Linked DNA regions of Homo sapiens: region 2 is linked to region 1. Evidence: promoter capture Hi-C in human tissues and cell types (Jung and others, 2019). All regions are on one chromosome and are shown on one strand. Each heading gives the region's core, a stretch centred on a gene start or on the middle of the fragment in contact. The rest is flanking DNA. Distances are from core to core; before and after follow the strand shown.

What was found. Contacts are between HindIII fragments. The study calls those that stand out against the background at their distance.
Region 2: a fragment that was not itself captured here is called in contact with the fragment with the promoter of ESCO1 in region 1 in 1 of the 25 tissues and cell types used here (dorsolateral prefrontal cortex).

What each region holds. Positions count from the first base shown.
Region 1 is chr18:21,597,986-21,602,608 of GRCh38, reverse strand. It overlaps ESCO1 (establishment of sister chromatid cohesion N-acetyltransferase 1), which reads left to right and starts at 1,905. Exons shown (of 12, transcript NM_052911.3): 1 at 1,905-1,986. RefSeq lists enhancers at 276-355, 1,680-2,199, 3,267-3,561. The HindIII fragment of the contact is 11,871 bases long and covers 1-4,623 here.
Region 2 is chr18:22,933,577-22,938,199 of GRCh38, reverse strand. RBBP8 (RB binding protein 8, endonuclease) reads right to left here. Exons shown (of 19, transcript NM_002894.3): 2 at 1,240-1,446. The coding sequence starts at 1,348. RBBP8-AS1 (RBBP8 antisense RNA 1) reads left to right here and starts at 4,436. Exons shown (of 5, transcript NR_198963.1): 1 at 4,436-4,612. RefSeq lists enhancers at 4,079-4,128, 4,489-4,618, 4,302-4,623. The HindIII fragment of the contact is 4,679 bases long and covers 1-4,296 here.

The sequences.
Region 1 (4,623 bases), core at 656-3,155:
ATCTCCCTGCGCAAACTGACAGGCAGCTCACTATTCGTGGAAGATGAATTGTCAGAAAAACATCAGGTTTGACAAACTTAGAGCACATTTTGGTTGTACTTGGCTTCAAAGAAGGAGGGCAGGAAGGGGAAAACCCATTTATGATCACCTCTTCCCATTCTGAAATGCAGAAGTACCGAACTAGCCTCACAGTTCCGCAAATAAGCAAAGGGTAGCACAGAACATATGTTCAAAAGCAGTCTAGTAGCCGGAGCAGTGGCTTAGGCCTGTAGTCCCAGCGCTTTGGGAAGCCAAGGAGAGAAGAGAGGATCACTTGAGGCCAGGAGTTCGAGATCAGCCTGGGCTGGTCTCAGTGAGACCTTATCCCTACAAAATATAAAAAAATTAGCCTGGCGGCCGGGCGCGGTGGCTTACGCCTGTAATCCCAGCACTTTGGGAGGCCGAGGCAGGTGGGATCACAAGGTCAGAAGTTCGAGACCAGCCTGGCCAAGATGGTGAAACCCCGTCTCTACTAAAAATAAAAAATTAGCCGGGCATGGTGGCAGGCACCTGTAGTCCCAGCTACTCAGGAGGCTGAGGCAGGAGAATTCCTTGAACCTGGGAGGCGGAGGTTGCAGTGAGCCGAGATCGTGCCATTGCACTCTAGCCTGGGTGACAAGAGTGAGACTCCATCTCAAAAAAAAAAAAAAAAATTAGCCTGGCATGGTGTCGTGGGCTTCATACATGCAGTTCTCAGGGAGGCTGAGGCAGGTGGGATCGCTTGAGCCCAAGTCGAGGCTGCAGTGAGCCGTTACTGTGCCACTGCACACCAGCCAGGGCTACACAGCAAGATCCTTCCTGTCACAAAAGAAAGAAGTGTGGGAACCATGAATCCTAGTGATAGAATCTTGGATTCTATCTCTAGAGGCGTCCAAGAGCGAGCCAAAGCTTTGTCTGAACACTCAGTCTGACTAAGTCTAGCAGAATATTTTACAATTTCTGATGATTCTTGCACTCTGATACACAGGAAGAAAGTGTGCAAGGAGAGGGCGAAGCCCTGCATTTTTTGGAGGTGCTGGAGGGCAGTGTAGGGACTGCACCCTCCTTTTTTTTTTATTTGAGACAGGGTCTCACTCGTCCAGACTAGAGTGCAGTGGCCCAGTCTCAGCTCACCACAACCTCCGCCTCCCAGGCTCAAGGGATTCTCCCGCCTCAGCCTCTCGAGTAGCTGGGATTACAGTCGCACGCCACTACCACCCGGCTAATTTTTGTATTTCTAGTAGAGACGGGGTTTCACCATGTTGGCCATGTTGGCCAGGCTGGTCTCGAACTCCTAACCTCAAATGATCCACCCGCCTCTGCTTCCCAAAGTGCTGGGATTACAGGCGTGAACCACCGCGCCCGGCCCCACCCTCCTTCTTTACATTGGCTCATATGGAAGACCAAAGGCACTTGGATTATACATCGCAGACAGAAGCAGCCAAAACCTACATGGCAACCAGTTGCGACAAATTTCCAAGGTAAACCACAACCGCTGGGGGCCTGGGTGGTTTTCAGCTCAAAGCGATGACCCCAGGAACGACAAGCGGCCGCCGCTAGGGGGCGCCGCCACTTCCCTGCCAGGCGACCACCCGCGGAGGCGCGCGCGCTAGGCCTCCCACCGCGCCTGCGCTGAGGATGGACACTAGCTCGCCTTTCCTCGACGCCCAGCCGTCCGGGCCGGGGTGAAAAACTGCGTGACACGCAGTGAGCGTGGCGGCCATCTTCGTCTTCTGGGCACGTCAGCTGAGCCGGTTAGGGCTGAAGAGGAGCGTTGCGCAAGCGCACCCAAGACGGTCACAGGTAACTCCCATCTGACGAGCGAGGCGTCGCCGTCGTCGCCGGAAGTTTGGTGTTTGCGCCGCGGGGGAGGCGGCGGCCGCAGCAGAAGCAGCTGAGTGTCTCCTGATACCCGGATGTGAGGCGATCCGCTGGCGCTAGTCTGACCCTCCGCCAGGCAAAAGGAAGGTACGCGAGCGTCCCTGACGGTCCCCGCCGCCTGTGTCTTCACCTCTCTTTTGCCAGCCCCTTCAGGGAGCGGACAGTTCTCCCTCTTCCTGTTCCACCCTCGGTGGCGTGTTGCCTCGCACGCCCCTTCCTACTGCTCCGGTCCCAGCTCTTCGCGCCCCTGGGAGGGAGGTGGGAGGCTCTAGGCTCCAAGACGCCGTCGCTTGAGGTAGGCAGCTAACGTGCTCGCGTGTCCGCGCACCACCTGCCGCTGTTTGCTGGGCGGTCGAAGTTCATAAGGGGTCGTGACCGCCGACGGGGCAGGGCCGGAGTTCCCAGCACTGCCGCGAGGGCTCCGGGAGCCCCGAGGTGGCGCGCAGCCATTGCTAGCACCGGGGCAGCGCCAGTGCTGGTCCCGCAGGTAGCTCCGGGCCCCGTCTCCGCCCCCTGCGTTTTCTCTTCCCGGCGCTTCACCGGAGCCAGTCCCTCGCCGCCTCCTGGCGCAACCCGCTGACCCGGCCTGAGCCTGGAGGCCTCTGCAGTTTGCGGGGCGCGATGTGGGGTCTTGGTTTTACAGCCTTCAGTTTGGGAGGGGAGCGGGCCCAAGGTCATAGAGTAACTCATGCTGCAAATGGGGGTCTCGGCACAGGTAGGGCGGCTCTGGAGTAGAAATGAGTGCATTGAGGGCCGCAGTGAAGTTTATAGCGATGGAGAGAGGCGAACCAAAGAGAATTGGGTCCTCGATTTTTATCACGGGTTAAGATTATTTTACTATGGGGGTTTATTTTGCACAGGCAGAATGGGATAGCAAGTCCAACAATTCGAAGACTACCTCCTCTCCCTCCGCCTCTCAATGATGCGTCCGAAAATCCGGCGTGTGCTTTATTTTCCGGGGCGATGGGGACGCAGCGGGGACCAGGGGAGGGAGGAAGAGGAGGAGGAAGGAGCTCAAGCTTTGCGATTTGAGAAGTACTATGAACCATGTTTTCTGTAGTCTTAGCTGCAATGAGATTCCTTTAAACAGGAATCGCAGCACACAGTATCTAGATAGTATTACAAAACGATATCTCAATAAATAAGCTTCGCAGGAAACAAAAGCGCTACTTGGTGGCATAAGGTGTGGTTAGTCCCCCCACCAGCATTGGCTTTTTTAAAAAAGTGGATAAAACATAGATTTCAGTTGAAAACATCCAGGTTGCAGTGAACTATGCTATATTCACTTTGTCTTCTGGTCAAGTACTTAGTTTCTGCTTTACACAGGACACCAACACGAATAAAGTTTTAAGTTATTATTTTATTTTGAGACGGGGTCTCGCTCTGTCGCCCAGACTGGATTGCAGTGGTGTAATCACTGTTCACTGCAGCCTTGACCTCCCTCCCCGGCCCCAAGCAATCCTCCCACCTCCGCCTCCCTGAGTGGCTGAGACTACAGGCGTCCGCTACCATGTTAGGCTAAGTTTTCTATTTGTTGTTGAGACGGCGTTTCGCCATGTTGCCCAGGCTGGTCTCGAACTCCTGGGATCAAGTGATCACCTGGGCCTCCAAAAGTGCTGGGATTACAGGCCTGAGCCACTGTGCCTGGTGAATTTTTTTTTTTTTTTGAAAAGCAAAAAATCTAATCAATGGAATTAGACATGGGAGTAGGATGAGAAGTGCTTTAAAACGTGCTTAATTTGGAAGTCGCAAATTCAGGCCTAGAGCATGTGAGGAAATGAGGAAACTAGGACTGTAATAGAGCCACTTTTTCCCTTTTAGGCAGAATGCAGAGTATCACTGTTGGGTCAGATATGTGACTTTGGAAGCACAATTCCAAAATTTGTCCTGGCTTACGAGCTAGAACTCCTTTATCATTGCTAACTGAGGAAAATATGCTATTGTCTCACCTTTCTCAATCAATATTATAATCCTGTAGTGAACAAGTAATTGTTTGTTTTTTTTTTTTGAGATGGAGTCTCACTCTGTCGTCCGGGCTGGAGGGCAGTGGCGAGATCTCGGCTCACTGCAATCTCCGCCTCCTGGGTTCAAGTGATTCTCCTGCCTCGGCCTCCCGAGTAGCTGGGATTACAGACAAGTGCCACCATGCCCGGCTAATTTTTTTGTATTTTTAGTAGAGATAGGGTTTCACCGTGTTGGCCAGGCTGGTCTTGAACTCCTGACCTCAGGTGATCCGCCTGCCTCGGCCTCCCAAAGTGCTGGGATTACAGGCGTGAGCCACCATGCCCGGCCAAGTAATTTTTTTAATGTCCGTCCCATACAAGGTGCTGGCATTTAAATTGATAAATTATGCTTCACAGAATAACTAAAAAAGTACCCTAATTAATGAATGCCATTAACTTCTTTTGCCAGATAGTCCTTTTTAGCTTGGTAATTTATTATGCAGAGCTGATTGTATTTATTCTGTTAATGAACGTGACCAGCGCTGCACAGTTCGAATAATGGATTTTTTTGTAATAGTTAAATATTTTTTCATGACTTTTATTGGCAGATTTTTGTACCACATAGAGTTCTTGGAATACCTTCTATTGAAGGTGATTAAAATTTAGGTACTAGAAACCAACTCCAGTAAAATTGTTACTGTAGATAATTAAGGACTATATTACCCCTTTTGTAACCCTGACTTTCATATTTTTCTGTGGATCATTCAATGAAAATCCTTTG
Region 2 (4,623 bases), core at 708-3,207, 1.3 Mb before region 1:
TGTTTGCACCACTGCACTCCAGCATGGGTGACAAAGCAAGACCCTGTCTCAAAAAGAAAAAGAAAAAAAGATCAGCTGGGCACAGCAGCGGACACCTGTAATCCTAGCACTTTGGGAGGCTGAGGCCAGTGGACTGCTTGAGCCCAGAAGTTCAAGACCAGCCTGGGCAAAAAGGCAAAACTCTGTCTCTACAAAAAATACATAAAATTAGCTGGGCGTGGTGGTGCACACCTGTAGTCCCAGGTACCCAGGAGGCTAAGGTGGGAGGAACACCTGAGCCTGGGAGGTTAAAGCTGCAGTGAGCTGTGACCATACCACTGCACTCCAGCCTGGGCAACGGAGTGAGAACCTCTCTGAAAATTAATTAGTAAATAAATAAATACATGAATATATAAATAAATAAATAAATAATGAGATCTTTGGGCCAGGCGCAGTGGCTCACGTCTGTAATCCCACCACTTTGGGAGGCAGAGACAGAAGGATCACTTGAGGCCAGGAGTTCAAGACCAGCCTGGGCAACATAGTGAGACCCTGACTCTACAAAAAATAAAAAATTAGCCAGGCATGGCAGCGTGTGCCTATGGTCCCAACTACAGGAGGGAGGCTCACTTGAGAATGGGAGGTTGAAGCTGCAGTGAGCTGTGATCACACCACTACACCCCAGCCTGGTGACACAGTGAGACCCTGTCTCAAAAAAAATAAAAAAAAAAAAAAGATATCTTTGAATTTAAAGATGGCCATTAAATGTACAAAATTCAACAGTGGACTGAATTAAAAAAAAGTATATATACATCATGGAATACAATGAAGCCATAAAAAAGAACAAAATTATTTTCTTTGCAGCAACATGGATGCAGATGAAGCCATTACCCTGAGCAGACAACAGAAATACTGCATGTTCTCATTTATAAGTGGGAGCTACACATTTAGTACACATGGACACAAAGAGGGGAACAACAGGTACTGGGACCTACATGAGGGTGGAGGGTCAGGGGGGTGGGAAGAGGGTGGGGATTGAAAAACTACCTATGGGGTACCATGCTCACTACCTGGGTGATGAAATCATTTGCACACCAAACCCCAGCAACATGCAATCTATCCATGTACCAAATCTGCACATGTACCCCCGGAACCTAAAAGCTGAAATAGAAATAATAAACAGGACTGTCATACAAAGGTATACAAAGCCACTACAGTCTCAACAAAATACTGCTGTAAGTATTTAAGAAAAGATTTTACCTTGTACTTCTCTATCATGACATTCTTTTAGTTTTGTCCAAAGGTCCTTAAAGTCACTAGATGTATCTGCAGAGTTAGGGCTTCCACAGCTGCTTCCCGAGATGTTCATCTTGCTTAATATGCTCCACACTTCTACTTGCTTAATATTTTCTGACCTTTTCTGTTACATTATAGAGGTATCAAGTCGTCTTTGGACAGGTCAAATACCTGAAATGACAGATTGCAACATAAATGAACTTTGCATTTATCTTTATGTACTTTGAAATCAGGATGAAACACAAGCCCAGATATCCTCATTTACCATTTCCTTATTTACCTATAATCAATCATTTTTAGAATTTGGGAGGGGAAGGAAAGAATAAGGAAAGATGATAATGGTGAGAAAAGTTCTGATTTCAGTTATTTGGCTATATGAGGTAAATTTTCAGGCAAATTTTCTTATTTCTCTTAGAGGAAGAAATTATCTCAATTATATTAAACAGAAAGGATTCAGATATTGAGGGGTTTTTATCATTCATGGTCAGTATTAATTTACCACTATAGACTAATGTATTGTTTTGGCTGGGGGAGATGGCTCTTGCCTGTAATCCTAGCTCTTTGGGAGGCTGAGGTGGGCAGATCACTTGAGGCCAGGAGTTTGAGATCAGCCTGGCCACCATGGTGAAACCCCATCTTTACTAAAAATACAAAAATTTGCCAGGTGTGGTAGTGCGTGCCTGTGGCCCCAGCTACTCAGGAGGTTGAGGCAGGAGAATTGCCTGAAACTGGGAGGCGGAATTTGCAGTGAGCGGAGATCGTGCCACTGCATTCCAGCCTGAGCGACAGAGACCCTGTCTCAATTAAAAAAAAAAATTGGTTTTTTTAACTTTTGAATTGGTGAAACATACTGAGCCCAAAACTGAAAAATATTCTTAGTCTTGACTTAACAAGCATCCACATATATACACATATCTATATATATTTTATAAAAGAGACAGTTGACTGATGTATTAACACAGATGAGGATCTGTATAACTTTCCAAAAACAAGAGAAGTCAGTAAGATTTAAACACAGCAAAGATCTATGAATACAGAAACATCTTAGAGTCATAAGACAATTAGGGTAATGTTACTTCATGCCTCTCTTAGAATAAAGGTGAATCATTAAGTTTATTACATAGTCCTTGAAGAAACCAACAGGTTAAGAAGTTTGAATGGATTAGTAAATATTTTAATATGTGTTCTTAAAATGAAACCATTAATTAGCTACAACTTAAAAAGTAATAGTGATCAGCAAGTCTACTAAACCTCACATCTGGCTCCTTAGCCAAAGCAAACTGATTGTTTCCTGCTAACCATTTCCTGAGGTCTCTGACAAAGGGGCTGAAAGAGTAATTCTGAAGGGAGCAGGAGTATATGTGAAGCCACTTGGTGAACCGTCAAGAGCTACAAAAATAAACTATCAAGCTTTGCAAAAATTGTGATTAGACTTTTAAAAAATAATCCAGAAACTAAATATGAGCTGGATTTTAGATATTAGGAAATTATTAATTTTCTTGGGTATGATAATGATGCGGTTTTGTTTGTTTTTTTTTTAGAAAGGCCTTATCTGTTAAAGGGATATTTACCGAGATATTTACAGGTAAAGGGATATACTCTGCGATTTGCTTGAAAAAAAAAAAATCCAGCAAAAACAAACAAAAATGGATGTTGGGTGAAGAGATGAAACAAGGGCTGAACTTCAACAATTTCTGAAGCTGGGTGGGTGCGTATACAATGGGGTTCATAATTCCAGTATTTCTCTTGTGTACATTTATTTCTGTAAAAAAGTTTTTAAAAGTAGAATTAGGTGCACTGCATTAGTTTTGTTACCAAAGAGGTTTTTATTCTATCTTTAACTCTAACAGATAAACAAATGGGCCTATATATAATTGTGAATAAAAGTCACCATTTGTTTCCCACATACCAGAAACTATAGAATATTAATATTAATATTTGTATTTATATATTATTTAATATATAATTATATATTATAGAATATTTATATTCTACCTAACCTTCAGAAAAACTCTGTAAGACAGCTACTATAATTTCATTTTAGAGTTGGGGGAAGAGGCGTAAGGCAGTAAATGTCCAAGGTCACACAGCTGGGACATGGCTATGTCAGGGATGGAAATCAAGTCATGAGACCAATAACTGTAAAATACCTCTCTGTAGCCCGCATGTTCTCAATCATAGGTGGGAACTGAACAATGAGAACACCTGGACACAGGAAGGGGAACGTCACACACCGGGGCCTGCCGTGGGGTGGGGGGAGGGATAGGATTAGGAGATATACCTAAAGTAAATGACGAGTTAATGGGTGCAGCACACCAACATGGCACATGTATGCATATGTAACAAACCTGCACGTCGTGCATATGTACCCTAGAACTTAAAGTATAAAAAATAATAATAAAATAAAGAAAAAATACCTCTCTGCAGCAAAAAGAAAAAAAAAGAAGACATAAACGATTTCTATTAAGTCAACAGTTTAAAATGAAGGTTTAATTACTTCAATGACCGAAAAAGTATTAACATATTCGTTTAAAGAGTGTAAAATAAGCATCCTTTACGTATCTATCTTCAAGTAAGTGATGTACAGTGCCTTAAAAACAAAACATAAAAACAAAACATTCAACTTGCAAATTCTGGCTCGCAAAACCCTTTCCACCTACCCGCATGCCCGGCACTTTTTGTTAGCATCTCTCTCTGCAATGAACCGTTATTCGAGGCACGACGACAATGTACATTTTTCAATCTCTCAGAACGTCACGTCTTACCTCCCAAGTTGCATTCTGGGCTCAAAGGCCTGTAATTTGTGTGTATTCCTTAGTATAAACCACTACACTGCAGGTGCTCACCAAAATACTCGCTGCCACACCACAGGTATTCTCACACGGGTAAGGCGAGAGGCACATTTCATCACACAGGGGACTTGAACAAACTGCACGGGACATTTCAGGGGTCCTCTTATGGGCGGAGCAGAGCAGCGGGGCAAAGGCTTTCCAGCCAGGTCCCTTCTCCATCCATTTCTCCCCAGGTGCCCGCGCCGGTTCCGCGTGCGGGTCTGGCCAAAAAACCTCCGAAGCGCGCGCGCGAGCCGCAGTCGGCGCATGCGCGGGGCGGGCTTGGCGGCGAAAGGCGCTTCCTCAGCCCGCGCGGGAGACCCAGAAGTAGTACTGAGGTAGCGCTCGTCCTCCCGCCGGTCCACCACCACCGAGTGTAGCCCGGGCCCGGCCTATTTCATCAGACACAACCCCAGAGCCGGGAGCCACCCCTACCCCGGGAGCCCTTCGCCAAGCACGCAGCTCCAGACCAGAAGCAGTCGCTCCGACCCAGAGCTCCGGGTGGGGTAAAGAGATT